Regions from separate parts of the Homo sapiens genome. Here region 2 is linked to region 1. Evidence: promoter capture Hi-C in 16 types of primary human blood cells and fetal thymus (Javierre and others, 2016). All regions are on one chromosome and are shown on one strand. Each heading gives the region's core, a stretch centred on a gene start or on the middle of the fragment in contact. The rest is flanking DNA. Distances are from core to core; before and after follow the strand shown. Region 1 holds the start of CXCL14 (C-X-C motif chemokine ligand 14). Region 2 overlaps SLC25A48 (solute carrier family 25 member 48).

What was found. Contacts are between HindIII fragments. The CHiCAGO score rates a contact against its expected background, and 5 or more counts as called.
Region 2: a contact is called between a fragment that was not itself captured here and the fragment with the promoter of CXCL14 in region 1, in 1 of 17 cell types (M0 macrophages). The highest score is 5.6, in M0 macrophages.

What each region holds. Positions count from the first base shown.
Region 1 is chr5:135,575,748-135,582,273 of GRCh38, forward strand. CXCL14 (C-X-C motif chemokine ligand 14) reads right to left here and starts at 3,244. Exons shown (of 4, transcript NM_004887.5): 1 at 2,968-3,244; 2 at 2,687-2,792. The coding sequence starts at 3,031. It also overlaps a transcript of SLC25A48 not described here. The HindIII fragment of the contact is 10,061 bases long and covers 1-5,738 here.
Region 2 is chr5:135,856,327-135,862,938 of GRCh38, forward strand. The region is part of intron 4 of SLC25A48 (solute carrier family 25 member 48); the gene reads left to right. Among named protein-coding and RNA genes, the nearest start is that of SLC25A48, 25 kb to the left of the region's middle. The HindIII fragment of the contact is 974 bases long and covers 4,074-5,047 here.

The sequences.
Region 1 (6,526 bases), core at 1,994-4,493:
CCACCTAGGGTATTTGGAAAAGTGCAAGGTGAGAGGTGAGGATGCCACTTCTTGAGGGGTCACAGCCATGCAAGCCATGATGGTAGACTGGGGTGCTGGAATGGGCTTGGAGGGCAAAGGGGGAGACTGGAAGTGAGAGTGGAAAGAGTGAGAAGAGAGGGACAGAGGTCAGCTAGTTCCCCACTGTTAACCAAATGGAAAATGTCATGGCTTATATGGGCTAAGTTCTAGAAGGGACAGGATTCCCATTACTTCAGTCTCCCAGTTGATGGGGAAAGAAAATCGGATCTTGCCACCAGAATGGGGGCATAATGTTCCTAGGCAACCTGTTCTCTTCCCTTCTCCGTGCTCTGGGTTTCTGGGGTCCCTGCTAGGGCCTAAGCTCCTTGGGGCAGGGGCGGGTCTTCCTGCTGATGCCAGGTGATGGTGCCTGCCTTGACTGGACTCCTCTGTGACTCCGGGTCATTCCTCTAGCCTTGAGCACAGGCCAGGCTTCAGAGTGAACTCTGGTTGTCTCTCTCCCCCACTGTGCCCAGTCACCCTGCAGGAATTTAGCAAATGCTTTTCTCTTTCTGCCTACAAGGCTGCTTTAGCATTCTGAAGGAAAGGACGTGGTAATGCCTGATAAAAACCCTTTCTCAGTTAGGTCAGTGTGCAGGCTGTGCATCCCAAATCCTGAAGGTCAGGGAGAGCAGGAAGGGAGAGCAGGAAGGGTCACTCAGCCCTCTCACTACAGTGCTCAAATGCCACGTCATAATACTGGGATTATGAAAATCGGTTGTGGAGTGCAGACATAGGGATTTGTGACTCCAGCAACTATCAGAAATTCTGAGTCCTGTGACCCTCTCCTCCACAGTTCTGGCGGTGGGGGTAAGGGTTTTGGTGAGAGCTCCATGGACCTATGACACAAATTGCTCTTTCTAGAATTCGGACTCTCCTGGATCCTTCTGGGTGCAAGGACTCCCACTTGCAAAGCGGACCTCTCCCCCCGCCCCTACTCCTGCCCCCACCCCCAGCCTCAGCAGAGATTTCTGGGTGACTCAGGGTAAGCTGGAAAATTTGCTTTTGTTCAGCCTTTGTGGCTGAAAACCTGCTTTGCAAAAGTGCTGGCCCCTCATCTGATTTGGAGAGTTTTAGGATTGTGGAGGGGGAGAGGAGCCCCCAGCCCTCAGGGATGGAGTGGGAGGCCCTAGGGGGTGGGTTAGAGGTTTAGTAGAGGGTGATTGGATTGTGTGCTGATCTCCTGAGGCCCCTGCACGTTTCTACAAGGCTCCGTAAAGCCTTTCTCACACTTGCCTAGCTATAGTTTTTCTCTATATGTGGAAAAGTTTAGCCAGGAAAAGAGCAAGCCTATTTACTGAGGGCTCTGTCCTTTTTAGGTATCACTGCATCCTTTACCCTGCTTTCTTCCCCTGCAAGGTCTCAGAAACTTGTTTGGTTAATAGAGTGGTTTTCAGCTCTTAGACGAGTGAGATTTAACTTGGAATTCCCCTGTCATTCTTAGCCCCCAAACTGGAAGCCCTGAGGAGCTTGGAGCTCCTTTCCCAGCTCATTTGACACTTGGCCCCCACCCAAAAGGATTTTTGGGTATTTTCTTTGAATTTGGTCTGCAAGGCAAGGGGTAGGGACAAGCAAGTTAATTTAGGTGTCTGTGAAGGAAGGCAGTGGGGTCAGCTCAGTTCCAGTGGATTTCTGAATTCCCCTAATTTCAGCCTGACAGTGTAGCCCCTAGACGGGGATGGGGGGTGCTGGGTAGGGGTGTGCACTGCTTTCGCAGACACTGTGAAGGCCTTTGCGCCGGTGGGGGCCAGCTGGTGGAGGGCACTTGCCCAGACTGAGAATAAAGTGCGTCCTGTTTCTGGGGGAGGGGAAGAGGGGCCAATGGTCTGTGGCAAATATTTGGTAGCCGCTTTGCCAAGGGCTCCCTTCCTGGCCAAGAGCATATTGATGAGGAGGCAGCGGTGCTGGCCTCAAGTGGTTAATTGGGAAGGCGGAGGAGCAAGAAACTAAGTGTTCTCTCACTCTGCCCCAGTTTTTCCAACATTCCCCACATCCCCACCAAGCAGGGCTCCAGCCATGTGGCACATTAACCCCAGCAGAGCACTTTCTGCAGTACTGCTCCGTATTGGGGACCCACAAGGAGTACAGTCGGTGAGGGAAGCTCGTGGAGCGTTCTCAAAATAAAATCTCTAGGAGCCAAAAACTTGCGGTCCACTTGTCTCTGACTGGAACAAGGCTCTGAAGGAGACTCAGGATTTAAGATAGTGTTTGCATTAGTCCTCTATCCAGTGACAGGAAGGCAGCACGCCTCACAGTTTGGGTGTGAGTGTGTTTTAAGTGATTTCAGTCTAGGTTTTCTGAGTTGGCACAAGGGAACCCTTTAACCCTTGATGGCCCTAGCAGAGTGGGTGGCCCATGGTACAAATAGGGAGACTGCTCATTTGAATCCTAGCAAGGGTGAACTTGGAGGCGCTGTTCCGGAGCGGGACAGTGACCCCCCTTCCCGACTGTCTTCCAGAGTGTCTCGCCAGCGTCCTAAGGACTCTCTGGGCAATTACAAAGGCTTTTCCAGGGCCTTGACAAAGTCGGAGAGAAATGTTTGTTAGCCCGACCCAGGCCCAGGCTGTGCCCTGGCATTGGGTTGACAGCAGTGCGCACCCCCTCAAGGTGAGGAGCGAGAACTCACATAACCATCTTCTCCTCGCAGTGCGGGTACTTTGGCTTCATTTCCAGCTTCTTCACGTCGCTGTAGCGGATCTTGGGTCCCTTCCGGGAGCACTTGCATTTGGACCCTGCGAGCGAGCGCGGGGCAACGGCTTAGTTGCTAGGCGGTCTCCTGCCCCTCGACCACCTTGGTGCCCACCCAGACCACCCCCCGCGGGATCCCAGGATGCCTAGAAATTGGCGCTTGGGTTCCCCAGGACAGGACAAGACGAGACGGCGACAAGGGGAGCTCCCCGCACTCACCGTCCACACGCGCGGTGTACAGCGCCAGCAGCAGCAGGAGCAGCGCGGCCGCCAGGAGCCTCATGCTGACCGGAGGGGCGCGGCGTGGGAGCAGGGACATGGGGAGGGCGCTGGCCCGTCGGAGCGGCGGCCCGGAGACGCCACCCAGCTCTGCTCGGCTTTCTCTGCCCGGGGCGCGCCTTCCGGCTCTGCTGGCTCCGGCTGCGCCGTCGGTGGATGCCCAGGGCTGTCTGTGGCCGTGCGCTGCGCTCTGCGCTTGTCTCCGCGCTCTCTCCACAGCCTCCCTCCGCCCGCCCTGGCCTCTTTTAAATCCGCTCCTGCCCTCGCAGCGAGCGAGCTCATTAATATGCAGAACCACTCGGTGACTCACTGAGATTTCTCAATGTGGTGAGGGGAGGAGACCTTCCCAGCCCGCCCGTCGCCCGCCCCGGGAAAGGACCCGCTATCGCAGCGGCGCACACCCGGAGCCACGCGCGCACACGCACACACACATCCGCTACCCTCTCGCTCACACAACACGCCGCCTTCGCACACTTGCACACCCATACCACAGCGCGCACACATTTCCAGCGTCCCGCTCTGCCTTTGGGGAGCCCAGACGGTGGAGAGGCTGCTGAAGGGCACTGCTTTTCTGAATCGTGTGGTTCTCTCTCTGGCCCGGCAGGCCAGCTTTTCCGAGCCGGCGGGAGACCCAGGCCCAGGGCTCAGATCCTCAAAGACCTGAAAGGGTTTTGGAGCAGGTGCCAAGTGTGAGTGCCTGCAGGCCTGACCCCCAAGGGCCCCTGCTGGGCCAGAACACAAGGCCAGTTCTGGACAGGGGCTTGTCATAGACTGTCCAGCAGCAAAGTCATTGACTGTGATCACTGGAACTGACTCAAAGAGGGTATGTGTGTGTATGCGGGGGTGGGGACGGGTATTGGGGAGGAGTTTTGGTGACTCCCAAAGGAAAGCTCCTTAAAGTGGGTCAGTGGCCTGGTGGCTGTGTGAGTGTCTGGGTGGTGGGGAGAACCAGGAGGAGTCCTCACTCTCACACTACTCTCCAAAGCCAGGTAGAGAGCCCTAGTGGAGAGCGATGACAGTGGTAACCATCTGGATGAAGGCCTTCCCATGTTCTAGACATTGTGCCAGAATGCGAGGTATAGTGGTGTGAGCCCAGCCATAGTGGCAGAAATTCCCTCCTCACTACTTTCCAGCACAAGTGACTTTACCGCTCTCAGCTTTTGTTTCATCATCTGTAAAGTGCAGATCATCACAGTGTTTCTGATAGGGTGGCTGTGAGAACTATAGAAATCATACATGTTGTCAGTACCCAGGAAATGTTACTTATTGGCACCATCGTTTTATGTCTAATTTATCTATTACTTTGATTCTTACCAATTGGTACTTTTCTTCCAAGTTGGTACTTTTAATTTCTTTATTTGACAGGTGTGGAAACATGCTCTGAGAGAAGAAATAACTTGTCCAAGGTCACAGAGCTAGGAAGCAGGTGACTAGGCCAGGAGGGTCCTCAGTATATACGGCTGCAGAACTGGGACTCCTGTCCCTGGACCACTCTGTTGCTTTGAGGCCTGTCTGCCCTTCACTTCTTGCTGCCTTGAGAGACCCAGAGACAGGAGGTGGATCATCTCAAGCTCTTGGAGTCCCTGGGCTTGGCTGTCAGGAGAGAGCTCACCCAGCTCTATGCCATCAGCCTGGCAGTTCCCTGGAGGCAAAAATGCCCAGAGGGCTTCTGGATGATGGGGACAGTCTGCTGAAGGGTGCAATGGGAAGAATCTGTGTCGTCTCTTCCCAACTGGAGAGCCCTTGCTGCTTCAAGAAGAAGCTGAGCCATGAAAAGCAAGCAGCGCCTATGCGTGCTGTTGTGCCTATACCTAAAGCAAAGCCAATAGCTGGACATTTGCATTTATGCATGAGATGAGTATGAGGGAGTGACTTTTGGCATTTATGTTAGTTTTTAACTCTAAAAATAATTTTTTAAAATATAGAAACAACACGTTTGCCCAGAAAAATCAGAAAACCCAAGCAGAAGAAAACTAACATTTTCACGCAAGTAAAATCTTGGGTGAAATCTTCCCAAAGCATCCTCTTTTTGCTTTGTGTGCACATGTACACATGGGATCAGGCTGCATGTAGTCTTTAATAACCTGCTTGCTATACCTATTAGCATATTGTGAACATCGCTCCATGTGGCTAGCCTTGCTACAACAATAGCTCCCTTAATGGTTTCATCTGAGGCCGGGTAGTATAATGGCTAAGAGGCTGGTGTCTGGAGTCAAATTGCCTGAGTATGCATCCTAGGGACTAGCTGTGTGACTTTGGGCAAATACCTTAACTCTATTTGGTATTGGTTTCCTCATCTGTGAGATGGAGATGATAATAATATGTACAGCATAGGCAGAATTAAATGAGATAGTGCATGTAATGCTTTTAATGTGGTCCCCAACACAGAGTAAGTGTTTGATATGTGCTGACCATTGCGGTTATCATGATTTTAGCTGCAGAGTATTCCGTCATACAGATGTACCAGAATTAATTTGACTACTCCTTGCTGGACATTTGGATTGTTTTCAACCTTACCCTCTTACAACCAATGCTGTTTGACAAATATTCTTGTAGCTCCATTTTGGGGTAGGTTTTAATACATTGGATCAGCCCTCAGAAATAGAATCATGGGGCCATGGCACATGCCCATTTTAAGACTTTTCATAGAAATTGCCAATTGCTTTCCAAAAAAATATATTTTATGCTGCAAAGGAATTTCTTAAATACCAAGCTTTCCTAGAGCATGTAAAGTATTATTTTTTATTAACGATTTTATTTCTAACATGTTTGTTTCAAGAATATGTTGATTGATTAACTGGGATCTAACAACACCAGCGATCGTGGGCACTGAGTTTTCACAGGAAAAAGTAGTTGGCTCTAGAAATATGGACCAACGTTCCCCAGCTTCTTGGGCTGGACCAGAGGTCAGACGTCCCAGTGTTTTGTCCTCAGTTACACTCCTCAGTCTGTGTATGCAGATCTCTGGTTTGCAGAAGGCAGCCACTGTGCAAGCAGAGCTGAGCCCTTGTTTGTGTGAGTTCTTCTGGAGCCATGGTACAGGAGAGCATGAGGCCCCTGCTGCCAGCAGGTCTGTGGGGGATGCTGCCTAACTGGGTGAGGGAGGGGGCTTGGCCCCTGACACACCTTCAGGGCACAGACTGTCTAGTGAGCCCAAGCCGAGGGCCTCTGAGCAGGTGGGCATGTGTGAGGCCGTTCTTTGTACAGTGGCACTGTCTGCTTCAAGGAGGTCCCTGGGGTACAGTGAAGGACAGCACACATGCCTTGCCTGTGTGTGTGTATGCATGTGTGCAGATGTCAACACATTCATGGTCATACTGGATTCTACAGAAGAGGTAGACGTGAAGTGTGGGGGCACAGAGGAGGGAGGAAGTGGAAACAGGACATCACTCCTTGAGGGAGTGGAAATTTTGCTGAGACCCCAGGGATTTGCTTATTTCTTCTCTTTACATTTATTGAGCACCCACTGTGTCCCAGGCGTTGTACGAGGTGCTGGGGG
Region 2 (6,612 bases), core at 3,311-5,810, 280 kb after region 1:
TGTGGAGAAGACTCCTCTCCCTGGCAGCCTTCTGAGTAGCCCCTGTGTGACCCCTCTGCCCAGGGAGGCTGGGTTTCAGCATGTATCATGGTCAGAGCCCCAGCAGCTCACTCAGGAGCATCCCAGCCTAGCATCTCCTGCCCCAGCCCCGGAGCTGCCCAGGACAGGGTCTGCACATGCTCTAAGCATGGTGCTGCTGCTCCTTGCTGGGGTGCATGGAGGGCCTGAGGCCTGGCTGCCCCAAGGCTGTGTGTCACATGCCCCAAGGCTCATGGCCACTGCAGCACGTGGGGAGACGCAGGAAAACAAATGGGGCCATCAGGGAGACACAGGGCCGGCAGTTCTTCACCTTCATCTTCAGCATATTGGGTCATGTCTTGGCACAATTCAATTTGATTCAAGGGTGGCACCTCTGAGGAATGTTTGAACTTTGCTGATCTGTCCCATCCCAGAGGCATAAGCAAAGATGTAGAGGAATGAAGGCTGTCATGAGCAGGCTGAGAACCCAGGCATCCAGGCCCCTGTGCTGGCTCTTTGCTCTATCCCGACTGCTTCAGAAAAGCTTGCCTTAGGGGAAAGGAAATCTCCATACGTCTTAAAACTGTTTGGGGTTCGGTTGTTGGAAAAGGCTCAGCAATGAGGCTTTTTGGCTGCTGGAAGCAGCCCCGCCTCCTTTACCACCTGGCACCTTGTCCCTGGAAGGGGAGGAAATGGGGGTAGCTTTGCGAATATCTGTTTGCAAGTATCTGTTGGGGGCCCTCACCCAGCTGGGACGCCAAGGGAGGTGTTTCCCAATAAATACTTTCCTTAAGAAGGTCTGGGACATTTGAAGGTTTCTTGACAACTTTTTGTTCTATCCTCTGTCCTGCCCACCTCCACTCCAGCTTTCCCTGTACAGTATGCTAGAATGGTGTCATACCAGGCCCTGAGTGATAGGGGATTCTGAAGCTAGGCTAGAAGCATTTGGAGACTAGAGGAAGAATGGGAGGCAGCCAAGGGAGTGGCTGAATCCAAGCATGGCCTCCAAGCAGGGTGCACAGCTCCTGGCCAGTGTTAGGGAGCTGAGCAGCCACCATTAGCAGCTGCCAATGTGACATGCTCACTCTATACCAGACACCACATAAGGTACTGTCCACCCATCACCTTCTTTAATATCCACCATTACAGCATGAGGCAGATATGATTGCCATCTCTGTTCACGTATCTCCAAGATGATAGTTATGCACCTACTGGGTGCCAGGCACAGGGCTATGTGCTGAGAATGCAGTGGTGAACAAAAGACTGCATCCTGTCTCTGTTACAGTGTGGCATCCAGCTGAGAGCCAGAGAGGAACTGGGTGCCTACAAACCATGGTGGTAGGGAAATACAATGGGCTGTCAGGCTGGAGTCAAGGAGGGTTTGGGAGCAGGGTGGGAGAAGGGCTGGGAGGAAAGCCTGGAGGTCAGGGCTGTGCACCTGCCCAGGTAGTGCTGAGGGCCACTCAGGTCTGCCTTGCCTAGGTATGGGAGCCTGAGATATGGCCTACCTGGGGACCTTCAGATCTCTCATCAGGGAAGTCCTTAAAGGGATCCTTAAAGGGCCTTAAAGGGCCCTTTACCACCTGGCACCTGTCCTTAAAGGGCCCTGTCTTTTGGGTAAGCCTCTGAGCAGTGAGAACACAGGGACCCTGTCCTTCCACCATGGGGAGGTGCTGACATGTCTCAGGATAGGTAAGATTCCCCGAGCCTCCTGTATGGCAATCTGCCCATGGCCTGTGCCTTCAGGTTGTTTATTTGTCTGTGGTGCCAGAAGGAAACCAGTTCTCTTAAATAAACCCCCGAGGCAGCAACAGAAAATGAACATGTGTTTGTTCTGTTCTTCCCTGTGTGCCAGGAGACCAGCCTTTTGGGAGCTTGGAGAAGGCTCTTAGTAAGAGGCATGGAGGTTTCTGCAGGCAAATATTTCTCAACCCTGCAAAGCTTTGAGCCATTAGAACCTGGGCTCATCGGCTTAGCACAAAGAGCAAAGCCAAAGCCAAAGATGGTTCACCAAGTGCATGGAGGGAGAGTAAAAGCCAAGATTGGAGGACCCACCTCTGCCGTGCCCCCACAAGTTTCTGTGATCTGGACTGAATAAGAATGGTCTTGGCAGTAGTGGCTGAGTGGCCAGTGTTTACTGAACCCTAATTGTGTGCCAAACACAATGCTAGGAGCTTGGCATATGTTTAATCTTCACAACAACCCAATTCCTGGGGATTTACTATGGGGAGACTGAGGAACAAAGAGGTTTCATACCCCCAGGTCCCTCCCTTAGTGGGAGGTGGAGGAGGTCTGATTCAGAGGCACTGATGCTTTCTCTGCTTTTGCCCCAGGATTTGTAGAAGCTGAGGTTATGACAACGTTGATAACATTGGGCCACCTGGGCCTTTGCGCAAAATTGTCATGCACACAAATAGCTTCAAACTTTAGGGAGAAGTGAGCTGGGAGCATGTCCCCAAAATGACGTTGTCCAAGTAATGGGCACAGCTTGTGGGTTCCAAGGGTTGGGTGTGAATTCTGTGGGATCGGGCTGCCCCCTCTGATCTCCCTTGCCCTCAGTTGCTTGGGGGAAGGAATTTGGTGGCAGCAGGTGCTAGACAGGATCAACTACTGGAGAAGGGAGGGGAGGCTGACAAAAAGTCACCAGGCAGTGTTTTCTGCCAGGAATCCCTCCAGAAAATGAGAAGGAATGTGGTTTTCTTTCAATTGCTCCTCAGGAACCCTCTAGGCTAGAGATAGAAAACTCAGAGACTCATCACGACAGGGAGCTAACATACATGTAACCTCCTATATTAGTCCAATCTCTTGCCACTAATAAAGACATGCCTGAGACTGGGTAATTCATAAAGAAAAGAGGTTTAATTGACTCACAGTTCCACATGGCTGGGGAGGCCTCACAAGCATGGCAGAAGGTGAAGGAGGAGCAAAGTCACGTCTTACATGGCAGCAGGCAAGAGAGTGTGTGCCAGAGAACTCTCATTTATAAAACCATCAGATCTCATGAGACTTACTCACTATCATGAGAACAGCATGGGAAAGACCCCACCCCCATGATTCAATTACCTCCTACCAGATCCCTCCCATGACACATGGGGATTATGGGAGCTACAATTCAAGATGAGATTTGGGTAGAGACACAGCCAAATCATATCGCCTCCCCTGGCATTGCAGTAAATACAGAGTTTATTTGACACAAGGCCAGCCACACCACGTGGGAGACAGAGTTATTCCTCAAATCAATCTCATAGGAGGCTTATAAGTTAGGGCTTTTTCAAAGGCAGTTTGTGGGAAGGGATGGAGATGGCTAGGCAATGGGTGCTTGCTGCTGATTGGTTGGCATGCAATCATAGAGGTGTGGAAAATTGTCCTCCTATGCACATTGTTGCTTCTGGGTGAGGCCACAGGAGCAGGGTTTGTGGGTCCAGGAGCAGGGCTGGTGAGTTGGTGCCACTGGTGTCAGACATGCAAAAAGCCTGAAAAGATACCTCAAAGGGCAAATCTTAGGTTTCACAATACTGATTACTCCTGCAGTGATGTTATCGGCAGGAGTAATTGGGGAAGTTTGCATATCTTGTGACCTCCTAAATAATGGCTGGCAATCCTTTATGTCTATACCTTAGCAGAATTCAGGCTCCTCTCCTCCATACCTTAGCAGAATTCAGGCTCCTCTCCTCCCTCTAGCCTGTTGACCTCTCATTACTTTTAGGGAAGGGCGATTATCATTTAAAGTATAAACTAAATGTCTGGCAAAGTTAGCTCAGCCTAAGCCAAGAAATAATCAAGGCAGCTTGAAGGATAAAGTCAAAAGGGGGATTGGCTAGATTAGGTTGCCCCCACTGCCATAATTTTCTCACTGATCTAATTTTTGCAAAGGTAGTTTCATAAGTGAGAAGAGGTGTCTGGGGAAGTGAATCCTCTCCCATTTTTCTTGAGACCACAGCTCTCCTAATCTATGTTTCATTTTTCCTCTTTCGATTGAAACCTGGACACAGAACATATTTTATCTTCTGCCTCATTCTGCTATTAGAAAAGCAGTAGTTCAAGCCTGATGTGTAAGCTTCAGTGTCTGAGAGGCAGCTGGGAGTGGTGGGGACTGTGGCAAGCTGGGCCCACATCCTGTCCAAGGGAGTGGTCACAACCCCACTTTATCGGACTGTTGCCCTGTGGCCTGATGTGCTTGGATCCTCCGATTTTTAAGAGAAGGCAAAAAGGTAGATTTTTTTCATGAGATATTTTGGTTGGAATGATCATGTAATTCAGTGAAAACCAAACAGAACACCATAGAGCCCAAGGCTGTGTGAATTGCATAGAATGGGGCTGGGGCTGGCTGCAGTCCTGTGGTCTGCGCCCTGGGTCAGTCCCAATCCATGTGTTGACTGTGCTCATGTGGGCATTTCTAGGCAGCCTTGGGCAGGGCTTTTGAGACTGATTGGGTTTTGTGGTTCTGCCTCAGGATTGCCAGTCCACTTCCAGGGCGATCCTATGTGATATGAGAGACAGCACTCACATACGGAAGCCAGGTGCCAAGAGGCCTCTGGCTTCTTCGCTCTGGTACATATGACAGGTGGACTGGGGGCCACATTGAGGTGAGAGCCCAGCTCAGGTGGTTGGGGGACTGGCAAATATATAGCCAGTGTATATTCAGCCAGCCCCTCCTGATTGTCTCTTAGTGGTGATCCATGGTTAAAAATCTACAAGCTACAGAACATTGAAAGTAGAGGTAGAAAGTGCCCATTCATGCAATTACAACCACTGGTAACACATTAATGTGTTTATTTTTCCATTCTGTATACATAGATTAAAGATTTTAAGAAGCTGTGATCATGCTATATGGACAATTTCATGTCCTGTTTTTAACTCAGCATTATAATAGAAACACTAACCATGTTATTAAAATAGCATATAAAATTTTTTTAAGTAGATGGGCAATATTTAAAATGGATGTGCACTAGTCCATCAAATACACACGCACACACACACACACACACACACACACACTGAAAGAGTCTATGTAGTATGGTAAAAATTAAGCTTCCAGAATTAGACTACCTGCTTATAATTCTACTTCCACTGAACCCAAAAAAGGTTAGACAGCTCACCTAATGTCACCAAGCCTCAGTTAACTCATCTGCAAAGCAGGCATAACTATAGTAGCTACTTTATAGCTGGGATGCAATGAAATGTATTATACATGAAGACCTCAGCACAATGTCTGGCATATAGAAAATGTGAAATAAATGTTAATTATCAGTAAATGTATTATTTAACAATCTTCCTAATGGTGAATATTTAGGTTGTTTACAGTTTTTCCTCTTTTAAAAATAGTGGTATGATCAGCGAATATATTCATAAAGAGTTCTCTTTATTTAGGGTTATTTCCCTAAATGTGTGGGCTCTTTGATTCATGAGTGGGATAAGGGGTGTGGCCATTTTTAACATTCTTGGTACATATTGTGAAATTGTTATCCAGAAGAGTTTTACCAAATCATATAAGCAGTTGCTTACATTTAAAGGGAATTTCCATTTGACACTGACTACCATTGCACAATAACCAGTAGTTATGCCCCCATGTAAATGCTTCCAAATTAACAGAGGTATTCTCCTGGGGCCTCTGCCACTTGGCAAGCAAGGAGACATTGGCCTGTGTTCAGTTGTATGTGCCTGTGACAGTAAGGCACCTGTGAAAAAACCCTTCCTTTTAAAATCACTGCCCTTTGCATGGGCATGAGCCTAACTAGGTGGCCTGTTGGGCATGAGCCTAACTAGGTGGCCTGTTGGGCATAAGCCTAACTAGGTGGCCTGTTGAGCCTGAGCTAGAAGTCAGGGCTGTGACCCTGCAGACCAGTAGTCCCTTTGCTGCCTGAGCCATGTCCTTCCTAGAAGTTCATGGCTAATGACACTCACTCCTCCCCCATCTGGGAGTGTTTAGATCTGTTTTTCCATTGAAAGACTAATTAATGTGCAGATCACAAAGCCCTCCACATAACAGGAGGTTGGAGTTGGGAGGATCAGGGAAGGACTGAACATTAACTCTGTGCTGACTATCCTAATCATTGCACCAGGCCCAACTGGAGGCAAGGAGATGAGTGTTTACACCTGTTTGAATTCACTGTGAACTGTTCATTCACAAGCATTTCCTGAGCCCCTGCTTTGAGGCAGACACAGTGGGTAAAGAAGCGCTGGAAGCCACAGCCTTCAGGGTGTCCACAGTCTAGTGGGGAGCCAGATGTGTGCTTCAATGAGAAAGGCCTCAGGAAAGTCTTTGGAACCCCTGACTCTGGCTTGGTGGATCAGGAAGCCTCCAGAAAGGAAGAGGCTGTTGATCGGGTTTTTTAGTTCTACGTAGCATTTAGAGATGGGGACATGGGATGGCGAAGTGTTTTAATACTGTGGGAACAACATAGGGGAAGATTTAGTGGCAGGAAAATGTAGGCACATGGTGGGACAAGGGAGCCTTTGGTTAGCACAGACAAGCAATGCAGGGATGGTGGGGGTTTTGGAAGATGTGGAGTAAGTTGGGAAGCGCTTGGATTTCTTCGCTGAGGATAGGCTTAGATTATATTCAGCAGGCAGTGAAGCACTTTGGACACCAGA